Regions from separate parts of the Homo sapiens genome. Here all the other regions are linked to region 2. The links are contacts of gene promoters, found by promoter capture Hi-C in blood cells and fetal thymus (Javierre and others, 2016). All regions are on one chromosome and are shown on one strand. Each heading gives the region's core, a stretch centred on a gene start or on the middle of the fragment in contact. The rest is flanking DNA. Distances are from core to core; before and after follow the strand shown.

The links. The method cuts DNA at HindIII sites, captures the fragments that hold promoters and counts their contacts. A CHiCAGO score of 5 or more calls a contact.
Region 1: a contact is called between a fragment that was not itself captured here and the fragment with the promoter of DDX28 in region 2, in 2 of 17 cell types (naive B cells and erythroblasts). The highest score is 6.2, in naive B cells.
Region 3: a fragment that was not itself captured here is called in contact with the fragment with the promoter of DDX28 in region 2 in 3 of 17 cell types (fetal thymus, naive CD4 T cells and non-activated CD4 T cells); the score reaches 6.2 in fetal thymus.

What each region holds. Positions count from the first base shown.
Region 1 is chr16:67,676,684-67,681,355 of GRCh38, reverse strand. All of the region lies in intron 2 of GFOD2 (Gfo/Idh/MocA-like oxidoreductase domain containing 2), which reads left to right. Among named protein-coding and RNA genes, the nearest start is that of C16orf86, 12 kb to the right of the region's middle. RefSeq lists enhancers at 2,378-3,333, 3,334-4,290. The HindIII fragment of the contact is 2,317 bases long and covers 451-2,767 here.
Region 2 is chr16:68,021,063-68,025,729 of GRCh38, reverse strand. It overlaps DDX28 (DEAD-box helicase 28), which reads left to right and starts at 2,498. Exons shown (of 1, transcript NM_018380.4): 1 at 2,498-4,667. The coding sequence starts at 2,528. The coding sequence ends at 4,150. It overlaps DUS2 (dihydrouridine synthase 2), which reads right to left and starts at 2,446. Exons shown (of 17, transcript NM_017803.5): 1 at 2,379-2,446; 2 at 236-315. RefSeq lists enhancers at 2,346-2,585, 2,296-3,046, 3,047-3,797. The HindIII fragment of the contact is 5,621 bases long and covers 1-3,413 here.
Region 3 is chr16:67,716,328-67,720,620 of GRCh38, reverse strand. It overlaps GFOD2 (Gfo/Idh/MocA-like oxidoreductase domain containing 2), which reads left to right and starts at 1,305. Exons shown (of 3, transcript NM_030819.4): 1 at 1,305-1,458. RefSeq lists silencers at 1,388-1,437, 1,498-1,547 and an enhancer at 1,908-1,987. The HindIII fragment of the contact is 1,164 bases long and covers 2,259-3,422 here.

The sequences.
Region 1 (4,672 bases), core at 360-2,859, 340 kb after region 2:
TTCCTTATCCTAGTTTTATCACCACCAAACTCCTAGCAGTCATAAAAGTCCTTTTTCCTCTAAACCCACCTCCTCTCTGCCTCACACTGCAGTATCCACTCTGTCGCCAGCAGCGAGGCATTATAGCAGGAGGCTTCTGAATTGGCCAGAACAGCAGCTCTCAGGTGGGGTGTCTGAGAACCTCATTTCCTCATTACATCCCTCCCTGGTCAGCCATATGTGTTCAGCAGCCAAATGGCAAAATTCACCCCCAGAACTGTGATTGTCTTCCCTAATCTGGAAGGCCCACAAGTGTGGAGAAGCACTGGAGACCCTCCAGAAGCAGTAGTGCTAGCAGTCAGGGGCTACTCTCCCTGCCGGGCCCCGTGCAAGGGCCTGGCCACCCTATCCCAGGTATGTGACACTTGGCTGGCTGTTCTTTATTGTCCTGCTAGTACCTGTTGTAAAGCTTCTTTTATTAAAGAAGAGCAGGAGATTGAAGTGTCATAAATTGAAGAGATTCACACCAACACGGCACATGTATACATATGTAACAAACCTGCACGTTGTGCACATGTACCCTAGAACTTAAAGTATAATAACAAAATATGTATTAAAAAAATAAATAAATAAATTGAAGAGATTGAATGATGTCATAGACTACCAATCCACATGCCTTGTTCCTTGCTGCAGCACTGAGGTTTGTAATCCTGGGAGTTTAGACCTACGTAAGATGCCCATAAGTACAAATGACAGATGCTCTGTGGGGTTCTTCAGGGTCAAGGTGGCAGAGGTGGGGGTAGGAAGTGAGAGGAGGGGGAAGGGTTGACCAGAGGCACCAATTTGTCTCCTGTGGGCTTGGTCAGTATGTGAGCTACCAGGGGGCCAGGCTGGGCCTGACTCTCGGAGAGGCCTAATAAACAGTACGTATGATAAAACAACTCCTCTGTATTCGTTTTGATTTTATTTATTTTTTGAGACAGAGTCTTGCTGTGTCATCCACGCTGGAGTACAGTGGCTTGATCATAGCTCACCGCAGCCTCTAACTCCTGGACTCAAGTGATTCTTCCACCCTAGCCTCTTGTGTATCTGGGACTACAGCTGTGCACTGCCACACCTGTGAGCCACCTCACCCAGCCTGAAAATTAGATTTTCTAAAAAGACATTATAAAATCAACATGGGTTGGGCATGGTGGCTCATGACTGTTATCCTGGCACTTTGGGAGGCCAAGGCAGGAGGATCACCTGAGGCCAGGAGTTTGAGACCAGCCTGGGCAATGTAGCAAGACCCTGTATTTACAAAAAGTTTAAAAATCAGCTGGGCGTGCTGTCACTCATCTATGGTCCTTGCTACTTGGAAAGCTGGGAGGAAGGCTCTGTTTGAGCTCAGACCAAGACTGCAGTGAACCAGAATCCCGCTACTGCACTCCAGCTAAGTGACAAAGCAAGACCCTGTTTTTTTTTGTTGTTGTTGTTGTTTTTTTTTTTTTGAGACGAAGTCTCGCTCTGTCGCCCAGGCTGGAGGGCAATGGCACTATCTCAGCTCACTGCAACCTCCGCCTCCGGGGTTCAAGCAATTCTCCTGCCTCAGCCTCCTGAGTAGCTGGGATTACAGGCGCCTGCCACCCCGCCCAGCTAATTCTTGTATTTTTAGTAGAGATAGGGTTTCATCATGTTGGTCAGGGTGGTCTCGAACCCCTGACCTCGTGATCCACCCGCCTCGGCCTCCCAAAGTGCTGGGATTACAGGCCTGAGCCACTGCGCCCGGCCAAGACCCCGTCTCTTAAAAAAAGGAAGAAGAAACTAAATCAGATTTTCAAAGTACAGAACATAGAAATTATTTACCTGGGGCCGACGCGGTGGCTCACGCCCCAGCACTTCGGGAGGCCAAAGTGGGTGGACCACCTGAGGTCAGGAGTTCAAGACCAGCCTGGCCAACATAGTGAAACCCCATCTCTACTAAAAATACAAAAAACTTAGCTGGGCATGGTGGCAGGCTCCTGTAATCCCAGCTAGCTCAGGAGGCTGAGGCAGGAAAGTCACTTGAACCCAGGAGGCAGAGGTTGCAGTGAGCTGAGATCGTACCATTGCACTCCAGCCTGGGCGACAAGAGCAAAACTCTGTCTCAAAAAAAAAAAAAGAAAAAAAAAAGAAATTATTTACCTGGAAAATGTAGTTTCTATGTGAGTCTTTTATTTATTTATTTATTTGAGACAAAGTCTCATTCTGTCACCCATGCTGGAGCGCAGTGGCTTGATCGCAGCAAACTGCAGCCCCAATCTCCTGGACTCAAGGGATCGTCCTACCTCAGTCTCCCAAGTAGCTGGGGCTACAGGTACACGCCACCACGCCTGGCTTATTTTTTATTTTTAATAAATACTAGGTCTTGCTATGTTGCCCAGGCTGATTTTGAACTCCTGAACTCAAGTGATCCTCCCACCTTGGCCTCCCAAAGTGCTGGGATTATAAGCGTGAGCCACCACGCCCAGCCAAGTCTTAAAATCCAAGTCACAATGGGCTTTTTTTCTCTGTATTTACGACATTGGCTGAATCCCTCCCTTGGCGATGGTAATAAAATGTACTGTTGACAGAGCTGTACTGAGCCAGGTACTTTACATATACTGCTTTGGTTGCCTTAGTCCTCCTTTCTTCCCCTGTAACTGTAAAATCCTGCTTTACAGTTATAGTAGTAAACAAAAACCCAGGGAAGTTTAGAAACTTCCCAGATCATCTAGCAGTGAAGTGAGAGAGCCAAGATTTGAGCACAGGAATTTCTGGCTCCAAAGCTTGAGTCCAGCACCAGTAATTGACTCTTCCTGGGTAGTCAGTTGTCCTGGGGCCCATCCATCATGTGGGACATCGGCCATTTCTTTTTCTTTTTCTTTTTTTTTTTTTTTTTTGAGACAGAGTTTCACTCTCGTCGCCAAAGCTGGCGTGCAATGGCGCAATCTTGGCTCACCGCAACCTCCACCTCCCGGGTTCAAGTGATTTTCCTGCCTCAGCCTCCCGAGTAGCTGGGATTACAGGCATGTGCCACCACGCCCAGCGAATTTTGTATTTTTAGTAGAGACGGGGTTTCTTCCTGCTAGTTAGGCTGGTCTCAAACTCCCAACCTCAGGTGATCCACCCACCTTGGCCTCCCAAAGTGCTGGGATTATAGGCGTGAGCCACCATGCCCAGCCAAGACATTGGCCATCTCTATGAAGTTTTCTTAGTTTTTGTTGCAAGATTTATTGTCTGTAGTTACTATTGTTTCTGCTGTAAGCTGGCCCCTCCTGAGCCTGTGTGAACAGAATCCATCTTGGTCCATCAGGGTAAGCTGCACCCTGCAGTGAGCCATCAGAAATAATCTGTGTCTTAACCATTACCTCATCTGAAAACATTCAGAAAATGTTTGGGGGCCTGAGGGAAGATGAGCACCATGGTTACTGAAGATGCACATACCTGGAGAAGGCACATTCTTGTGACCGGTTGCCCCAGGTCACAGGCATCCAGGCCTAAGGCTGCCCCTCCAACCAGGAAGTACCTGTGGAGTGCCAGAGTGGAGCCTGGATGGCTGTGGAGGAGAAGCCCAGGTGCACACATTGCCCAGATGGGCTTCAACTAGAAGGGTAAGCACATGAATTAGTCCAGCCCAAGACTTGGTATCCAGTTTTCCACATTGCATGTAGGCTCTGTGTAATGCTTTCAGTCTCGTTTCCTAACCCACCCCTGCCTTCTCAGTCCTTCAGCATTTCGTGATCATTGCCTCTCCCCAATCCCCAAGTCCTTCTGCACAGCAGCCCCCATCTCACATTCAGTGGCTAGAGCAGGATGAGCAACCGAGAGACCACAGGAGGCAAAGAGTCAAAAAGATAATTTTGGAGTGGTCAGGCATGGCAGCTCATGCCTTAATCCCAGCACTTTGGGAGGCCAAGGCGGGTGGATCACCTGAGGTCAGGAGTTGGAGACCAGCCTGGCCAACATGGTGAAACCCTGTCTCCACTAAAAATACAAAAGTTAGCCGGGCGTGGTGGTGGGCACCTGTAATCCCAGCTACTCAGGAGGCTGTAGCAGGAGAACCGCTTGAACCCAGGAGGCGGAAGTTGCAGTGATCCGAGATCATGCGACTGCACTCCAGCCTGGGCAAGAGTGAGACTCTATCTCAATATTTTTTTAAAAAGAAAATTTTGGAGGAGTGCACAGATCATGTATCAAGACCTTATGGGTGGGGCCTTTGTAAGGACTTTGGCTTTTATTCCGAGAAGCTATTGCACATTGGAGAGCTTTTTCGTGGGTTTTTGCCAGGGTGTCTTTACCCTTTCTGGCTTACTATGACTTGTAAACTTCTGTATGTGTCTAGTCCATACTGCTTTTTGGGCTTTCTAAGTTTTCTATTTAAAGTATTAGCACAGGATTTCCTTCGACTTGAACCACACAAAGCTCGCAGGAACACTGCAGGTGTTAGTGTCTCATGGCTGCTCATATCCTCACAAGCTTTCATCTTGAAACATGGAGCAGCATTCATCCCTTCAGTTCCCAGCTGCTTATCCTCTAGCACTCTCCTCAGGGCTTTGTCCAGCTTTGTTTACCTCTGGGTGCGTGTTGGCTGCAGCGTACCCAGAATGGGTGTGAGGGCAAAAAGGGTATTCTCACTTCCTTCCCTTCCTGCCGGAGCCAAACATGTTCTAGCCTTGGGCCACTCTAACTTGTT
Region 2 (4,667 bases), core at 1,249-3,748:
AATCAATGTCCTCTGTGAGTGAGGGGGAAAAAAGGTAGGCAGTGTCTAGTGATGTGACAAGAAGAAATTAGTGGCCACGGACACAGACAGGCTTAGGCAAGCTCTAACTCCTGTGAAATTTTGAGGTAATCATATTGTAAGGACTCAAGCATAATGAGAAAACAACTATATATTAACCAGCTACCCTACCCTGGATATTTGAACAAAACCCAAAAACCCAAATGCATATACATACCTATTATTTTGTTCTGATACTTCAGGATTACTTTGATATATGTGTTCTGGCTTTGTACAGAGTAATTCTTTGTTTGATATCTGAAAAACAGTGGCACATGGAAATGGATGAAACCTGTTGGGACAAACATCCAAGGGACCTTTTTTTTTTTTTTTTGAGACAGAGTCTCGCCCTGTCGCCCAGGCTGGAGTGCAATGGTGCGATCTCGGCTCACTGCAACAACCTCCGCCTCCCGGGTTCAAACGATTATCCTGCCTCAGCCTCCCGAGTAGCTGGGATTACAGGCATGAGCCTGGCCCCAAGGAACTATTTGGATAAGGAGAAGCCCTGAGTTTGGAAAGAATCATAAAAGTAGCATAGAATTGGGCCGGGCACAGCGGCTCACACCTGTAATCTCAGCACTTTGGGAGACCAAGGTGGGCAAATCATGAGGTCAGGAGTTTGAGACCAGCCTGCCCAACGTAGTGAAACCCTGTCTCTATTAAAAATACAAAAATTAGCTGGGAGTGGTAGCGCACACCTCTAATCCCAGCTACTCAGATGGCTGATGCAGGAGAATCCCTTGAACCCAGAAGGCAGAGACTGCAGTGAGCTGACATCGCACCACTGTACTCCAGCCTGGGCAACACAGTGAGACTGTCTATAAAAAAAAAAAAAAAAAAAGTATCCAGCCATTGTCAAATATGGTGGGAGGGAAAGGGCAAAATCACCCTTGTTTTAGAACCACTACCCTATCCAATGACTGTTCATTCACCCATCACTACTCAAAACTTTCTCTTCCTACTTCCAGATATTTTCTTGTGGAGAAAAAAAGCCTCTCTTCCTCTGATTTATCTGGTAACTCTCCAGAAAGTCTAATTGTGTAGCACAAGGGTAGAGTGTACTTAAAATTGTGAAAGTTTTTCCTCATACTATTCCAAAAAAAGCAAAGTTTTTATCTTTTCATTGGTATTTGATGAAACTAAAACGTTTTCTCCAGATGTTACGAACCTCCCAGAGAGTTAATCCATAAATATTTACCTTATCTCCCACCCCAGGCACTGCAAATTACAGAAAAGATCTGACACCCATTTTCCAGATCTGTTCAAGAAGTATCTGTTGGGCATGGTGGCTCACGCTTATAATCCCATCACTTTGGGAGGCCGAGGTGGGAAGATCGCTTGAGGCCAGGAGTTCGAGACCAGCCAGGCCTACATAGTGAAACCCTGTCTCTACTAAAAACAGAAAAAATTAGCCGGGCGTGGGTGGTGTACGGCTGTAGTCTCAGCTACTTGGGAGGCAGAGGCAGGAGAATCACCTGAACCCAGGAGGTGGAGGTTGCAGTGAGCCGAGATTGCGCCACTGCACTCCAGCCTGGGTGACAGAACGAGACTGTGTCTCAGAAAAAAAAAAAAAAAAAGTGACTCGTATAGTTCTTGTTTTTACAACCCGAATATCTGAATTCAGGTAAAATATTCTGCCTGACCAGGGCTACATGATAAGCCACGTACTTGATCACTTTGTAGGGTCGCAGCACCCTTCTTACTACTATTTTAGGTAATTCAGGTTTCTGACGGGGAAGCCAGTGGAGCTGAGCGGGCTGCAAGAGGGGTGGGTTCTGGATGAGAAGTTGGGACGCGTGACGAGGGAGTAGAGAGTGAACCTTGGCTTAAAAGGAAGGAAAATAACTGTGAAGAAAAGATGACCCAACTTGAAATAAAACCTGAAGACCTTATCTCCCACTTGAGAGAGAGAAGAAGCTGAAAGCCATCAGCTTGCACTCTGGGCTCACAGACAGAGAGGGTGAGGGGTTGAGCCCAGATCTATGACTTCAGACCCCTGTCTCGGCCCCTAGGCCTGATCATTCATTCAAACTCTCAATAAACACGGATTACCAGACCCTGCGCAGGGAACACATCTGGGAAAACAGCTGCAACCTCGGATACCAGCACGGGACAAGCTATCTCAGGGCAATGAGGAACAACTAAAGAGAATCCCAGGAACCAGGTAACCAATCGCCAGAAGCCCTCCGCCCTCATGGTCCATTGGGTCAAGGCCCCACTGCCGCCTCGTATCGCCAGCCTCCAGTCCTGCCTCCACGACGCGCCCTTCCCCAAGGCTGGCCGGGTCTGGATGTCGCCATCCCCTATTCGGAGCTACAGACCTCGCAGCTGAACTCTTAAAAAGAACCTCGCTTCTTCCTCACGGTGCTCCAGCTCCACACACCGTACTGAGCCTCGCCAGCCACCGTACGCGAGGTCGCGGCGCGTCCGTGACGTCACTGATGTGCGCTTCTCCCGCACTAAGGGAAACATGGCTCTAACGCGGCCGGTGCGGCTCTTTTCCCTCGTGACTCGGTTGCTCCTGGCGCCGCGACGGGGCCTCACGGTCCGCAGTCCCGACGAACCCCTGCCGGTGGTGCGCATCCCAGTGGCTCTACAGCGGCAGTTGGAACAGCGGCAGAGCAGGCGGCGGAACCTCCCGAGGCCGGTGCTGGTTCGACCCGGACCGCTGCTGGTTTCGGCGCGGCGGCCGGAGTTGAACCAGCCGGCGCGCCTCACACTGGGCCGTTGGGAGCGCGCGCCGCTAGCCTCTCAAGGCTGGAAGAGTCGACGCGCGCGTCGGGACCACTTCTCCATCGAGCGCGCGCAACAGGAGGCGCCAGCGGTGCGAAAGCTCTCGTCTAAGGGCAGCTTTGCTGACCTGGGCCTGGAGCCCCGTGTGCTGCACGCACTACAGGAGGCTGCGCCTGAAGTCGTTCAGCCCACAACCGTGCAGTCTAGCACCATCCCCTCACTACTTCGCGGCCGCCATGTCGTTTGCGCCGCAGAAACCGGCAGTGGCAAGACTCTCAGCTACCTCCTGCCGCTGCTTCAACGGCTCTTGGGCCAGCCAAGCCTGGACTCCCTTCCTATCCCCGCGCCCCGAGGCCTGGTCCTTGTTCCTTCCCGAGAATTGGCCCAACAGGTGCGGGCTGTGGCCCAACCCTTGGGCCGCTCCTTGGGCCTGCTGGTGCGGGACCTGGAGGGAGGCCACGGCATGCGTAGGATCAGGCTGCAGCTGTCCAGACAGCCTTCAGCAGATGTGCTTGTGGCCACTCCAGGGGCTCTGTGGAAGGCCCTGAAAAGTCGACTGATCAGTCTGGAGCAACTCTCCTTCTTGGTGTTGGATGAGGCAGACACACTGCTGGATGAAAGCTTCCTGGAACTGGTGGACTACATCTTAGAGAAGAGCCACATAGCAGAAGGCCCAGCTGACTTGGAAGACCCCTTCAATCCCAAAGCTCAGTTAGTGCTGGTAGGAGCCACATTTCCCGAAGGTGTAGGCCAGTTGCTGAATAAAGTCGCCAGCCCAGATGCTGTCACCACCATCACCAGCTCCAAGCTCCACTGTATCATGCCTCATGTGAAACAGACATTTCTGAGACTGAAGGGAGCAGATAAGGTGGCCGAGCTGGTGCACATCCTCAAGCATCGTGACAGAGCAGAAAGGACTGGTCCCTCAGGAACTGTTCTGGTGTTCTGTAATAGCTCCAGCACTGTGAACTGGCTGGGATATATTCTGGATGACCACAAAATCCAACACCTAAGGTTGCAGGGGCAAATGCCAGCCTTGATGAGGGTAGGAATCTTCCAGTCCTTCCAGAAGAGCTCCCGAGACATACTTCTCTGCACAGACATAGCCTCTCGGGGCCTGGACAGCACTGGTGTGGAGCTGGTTGTCAATTATGATTTCCCCCCAACGCTGCAAGATTACATCCACAGAGCAGGGAGAGTGGGCCGTGTGGGGAGCGAGGTGCCAGGCACCGTCATCAGTTTTGTGACCCATCCCTGGGATGTGAGCCTGGTTCAGAAGATTGAGCTGGCGGCTCGCCGAAGGAGAAGTCTTCCAGGACTAGCATCCTCGGTGAAAGAGCCTTTGCCCCAAGCAACCTGATTTTGACAAATCTGATTAAAATGTGATGCTAGAACAGGGATCTTTCCCAGTATCTTGAGTGGGTGACCACACTTGTCAGTGGGAGGCTCTGGGCTGCCCTGTCGGCTCCTTGAGGGCGGGATGAACTGCTTTGTGACTTGGAAAGGTACGCTGCTGGCCAGCATTGGAGAAGAAGCTGCTGAGCATGGCTTTCTGTAGTCTTTAGCAAGACACAAGTGGATTTTGACTTTGTATCATGTCATGATTTCTAACAATAAATGATGTTTTTATGTGCCTCCCCTAAGAATAATTAGCACCGGGGCGGAATTCAGTAGTTTCTGAGGATTCATACACCAAACCTCCACATCTAGGACAAAGGCTCTTTCAGTTGATGTTTTCATTTATAAACATTTAGTTTGTATTTCCTGCCCCCAAAAAGGTATCCATTAAGCCCCCAGGGAAAGGAAAGGAAAGGAAATGTGACTAGCAGTAGACAGAGTTACTCTCTAACAATGCCCAAGACAAACGGGCGTCTTGG
Region 3 (4,293 bases), core at 1,591-4,090, 310 kb after region 2:
ATAAAGGGGAAAATATGGGTTTTAGATTAAGCATAAAGTCCTGGTTCTATATAAGTAAAGCCAGAGTAGGCTCATTTCCCCCTAGACTAGTGGTTCTCAACTGGGAATGATTTTGCTCCCAGGGAGACACTTGGCAATGTCTGGAGATATTTTTGGTAGTCACAACTGGGCTTGGGGTGCTACTGGCATCTACTGGGTAGAGCCAGGGATGCTGCCAAACATCCTACAATGCAGACAGCTCCCCCCACCCCTGCCCAACAAAGAATTATCAGGTCCAAAATGTCAATAGTGCCACTGTTGAGAAATCCTACTCAAGAAGAGTGGAACTCCGAACAATGACTAAGAAACAGATCAAACAGGCACATTTTGACTCTGCCTTCCTTCTGCCTGGCTCTAGAGGATCCAGGAGAGAAAGGATAAAATCCCATCAGAAGAGGGGGGGTTTAGGGGTTACAACTTCTCATCACTTTGGAAGCCTTCCATGCTCCTCACAGAGGTGGTAGGAGTCCTGTCTCCGCTCAAAGCAGGGATAGCTCTGCTGCTAGTTAGCATATCTCAGTAGGAACTGCCTCACGCTTAGGTCAGCTGACATATTCTGTCACCACAGGCTGCTCTGGAATGATGGCTGGGAGATCATCCTAATGCCAGCTGAGTGGGGATCTTGATACTCAGCAGGAGGGTCAGACAAGCAGGGACGGGGGCTCCCCATGCAGATACAAACCCCAATCACATTTCCTACACAGGCAGTTTTATTCTAAGGTCTAACGGCTTCCTTACTCTAGCGGATAGTTTGCTATTTGGTGGGGCATAGGCTTCAGTAAAGAGGCCAAGGGGACTGAGGTTACAGTCTTGAAGAGCACTGATATTTAAGGAACAATCAAAAAACATCCAGAGGAAGAGGAGCCCAGACAGGCACCTGAGAAAACGGAAAAACGAGTCACTGGGGGTCAGGGAGCCAGGAAGTCCGACGAGTTCGAGAGAACTGGCCTTCTGCAGATATGTCCTTGTCCAACACGAAACCGTCTTTCATTCCAGGACAACTGAGGCTACCCACAGCTACCAAAACCTGGTCCCTGACGCCGGTCAGCGGACCGGAGAGAAGCCAAGCTTAGGAAACTGCCGCCTCCGCCGCCGGAAATGAATAACCTGAGCCTCCTAGCCAGGCTGCTTAAGCTCCGCCCCCAAAAAGCGAGCATGCGCAGCTCCCGGCTACGGCCCCTCCCAGCGCAGGCCCATCCCCGTTATGGAGCATGCGCAGTCCTCCTGCCGTCCCGCCCCTCCCTTTCCAGAGCCCCCAGTTCCTTAGAAACCAGGCGGCGCGTTCCCGGTGGCGGCGCCCTGGACTCCCGGGCCCGCGCATCCCCGCCAGCCTTCCTTAAGGCGGATGGGTGGCCCCCGAGACCCCGTCGGACCCATGGTTTCCAGTGCAGCGCGGAGTGGGCGATGCCAGCGTGCCAGGTGAGAGGCGGCCACCGGTGGCGGGTGAGGGCGAAAGAGGGCATGGCGCGGCCGGGAGCGGGCGCCGACAGGGCCTTCTCCGCGGCCCGGCGCCGGAGGTTGGAGGCGTGGACCCGCAGAGCCGGGGTTGGAGGGGGCTTGTTCCAACTGCCTGCAGGCGCGTGGAGTGGAGGGTCGCCTTGGGATTCGCCCTTTCCACCGCAGAAATAGGACCCGCAGGCTTGGTGGTAGAATTATAGGATTTGGGATCCTGGAAGAACCTGAGACATAACCCATCCTTTTACCAGATGCAAAAACCTAGTCTCCCCCGCCCTGTGCCGAGCGGACCACCTGACTGTGTGAGGATGGACGCTTTGTGGATGAGGATGTGTGAGGTGTAGAAGCTCAGACAAAGGGCTCGTGGGGTAGCTGGTTCGTCCCCTTTCAGAATGAGATGGGACTTTTGGGGATAAATCTTTAAGAAACGGGTGTTCAGTTGACAGGTGGAAGAAGGGACACCCCAGAAGGTGCGAGTGGCTCTGCCAGCTCCCATGTGCCCTATGGCCACGTCTCAATGGCCCTGGCCTACCTTTGTATTTGTAGCTCTGGAAGGAAGCAGATGGACTTGAGACAAAAGGTGAAGTGAGGTCTTCCCATCAAGGCCCTATCACACTTAAAAGGTGAGGGAGGAAGAGTGGACAGGGACATGAGGGCTTGGGAATGGTTGTGTGAAGAGTTTACCCTCCAGACTACAGCACGATCTAAAGAACAAGGCAGGATAGAAGAGTTGAAAGCTGTATTGGATAGGCATCAGGGAAGCTTATTTAACTGTCTTATTTATGTTCATTGTTCCCATAATGTTATCCTGAGGGCAAGAAAGTGGATGTCCTTTTAAATGTCCAGAAAGAACTAGGGCAGGGCACCACCTTTGTGATCTGTGGGGCCCAAAAGCCTCTAAAGGAATAGCCCTTAGTGTGTGGCCCTTAAGTTGAAGGGAACAGCATTTAATTTAGAAAAGGAAGGCACTTAAATTTATTGTGATATGGAGCAATATAGAGAAGATGGTTGTTTTTGAGTCGGGGAAGCTAGATTCATTCTTGATAAGGAAACTTATTTCCTTCTGGAAAGCTACACTAGAGAACAAAAGAGTTTTAAGGCCATCCATTTTACAGGAAACGTGAAAAAATTAACTGCTTTGGGATTGGGAGTTTAGAGAACCTGCCTGGACCAAGAGAGGAAATTTTCAACAGACGGTTCTGTTGGTCGAATCCTTATTTCACAGATAAAGATTCTGTTGTGAGAGGTTATCTCTTACCACCTGGTTTTCCCACTTTGCCATGGAATAATCATTGGTCTGGGTCTAATTCTCTATCTATCTATCTATCTATCTATCGAGACGGAGTCTCACTCTGTCACCCAGACTGGAGTGCAGTGGTGCGATCTCGGCTCACTGCAATCTCCGCCTCCCAGGTTCAAGCGATTCTCTGGCCTCAACCTCCTGAGTAGCTGGGACTACAGGCATGTACCACCACGCCCAGCTAATTTTTGTATGTTTAGTAGAGAAGGGGTTTCACCATGTTGGCCAGGCTGGTCTTGAACTCCTGACCTCAGATGATCTGCCTGCCTTGGCCTCCCAAAGTGCTGGGATAACAGGTGTGAGCCACCACACCCAGCCCTCATTATTATTTTTATTTGCTAGGGCAATTGCTATCTGATTTCTATAGTAATACTAGAACACATTGGTAGTAGAACTAGCAATTTTTTAGAAAGCCTCCTCTGACCCAAAACTTAAAAATTAGAACTATGTGATTTTTAAAAGATGGTCCCTGATTCTAATCATCAAAGTCAGTTTGTCCCTAGCTTGATAAAAACTAATTTTCTATTTACATTTGACTTTGCAGCAGGTTTTTCCCCTTGCCCTTATAAGAAGATACATTGGAAGTATAATAATGTTAACAGGTGAAATCAGTTTAAAGAAGAAAGCTTTGGGCCGGGCGCAGTAGCTCATGCCTGTAATCCTAGCACTTTGAGAGACCAAGGTGGGTGGATCACCTGAGGTCAGGAGTTTGAGACCAGCCTCACCAACATAATGAAACCCCGTCTCTACTAAAAATACAAAATTATCGGGGCATGGTGGTGCACGCCTGTAATCCCAGCTACTTGGGAGGCTGAGGCAGGAGAATCGCTTGAACCTGGGAGGCAAAATTTGCAGTGAGTCGAGATCGCGCCATTGCACTCCAGCCTGGACAAGAGCTAAACTCTGTTTCAAAAAACAAAAAAAGAAGAAGAAAACTTTGTCTTGGCTTCATAATTCAGCATCATACCATAACTATGGGTATTGTGACTGTGCTTTTTACCAACTTTTCTTGCACCTGTGGGGTTATTTTGTATAAATACCTCAGGAGTTATAATGGGGCATTATCAAAAGCAAATGTAACCTCTGGGGAAAATCAGTACTGTTAACCAAATTCTGTCAGAAAGGCTTCATGAAAATCATTGTGTTCTGTGCAGAAACCTTCATTACTTTCACGTTGACCCAGAGGAAGGTAAGACAAGTAGGCCAAAATCAAGTCAAGGTAAAATGGAAGGGAGCAGTTGCCACCTGTGGAACTGGATGGACTGTGGGAGGGTGTTTTGAACGTGGGCACAAATACTTTGAATGAGCTTTTGGAGAGGGTACTGCTTAAATACGGCTGTGGTGTGACCTGTGGATTTGTGTGAGTTTTCTGAACTCCAATCAGAAAAACACTTGTTTTCAGAGAAAGGTAGACTTACAGAGGACTCTCAAAAGTCCTGGTTGCTATGACAGTGAAACCTTTGACAAATAATTACTTAACTTCTATGCCATTTTCTGGA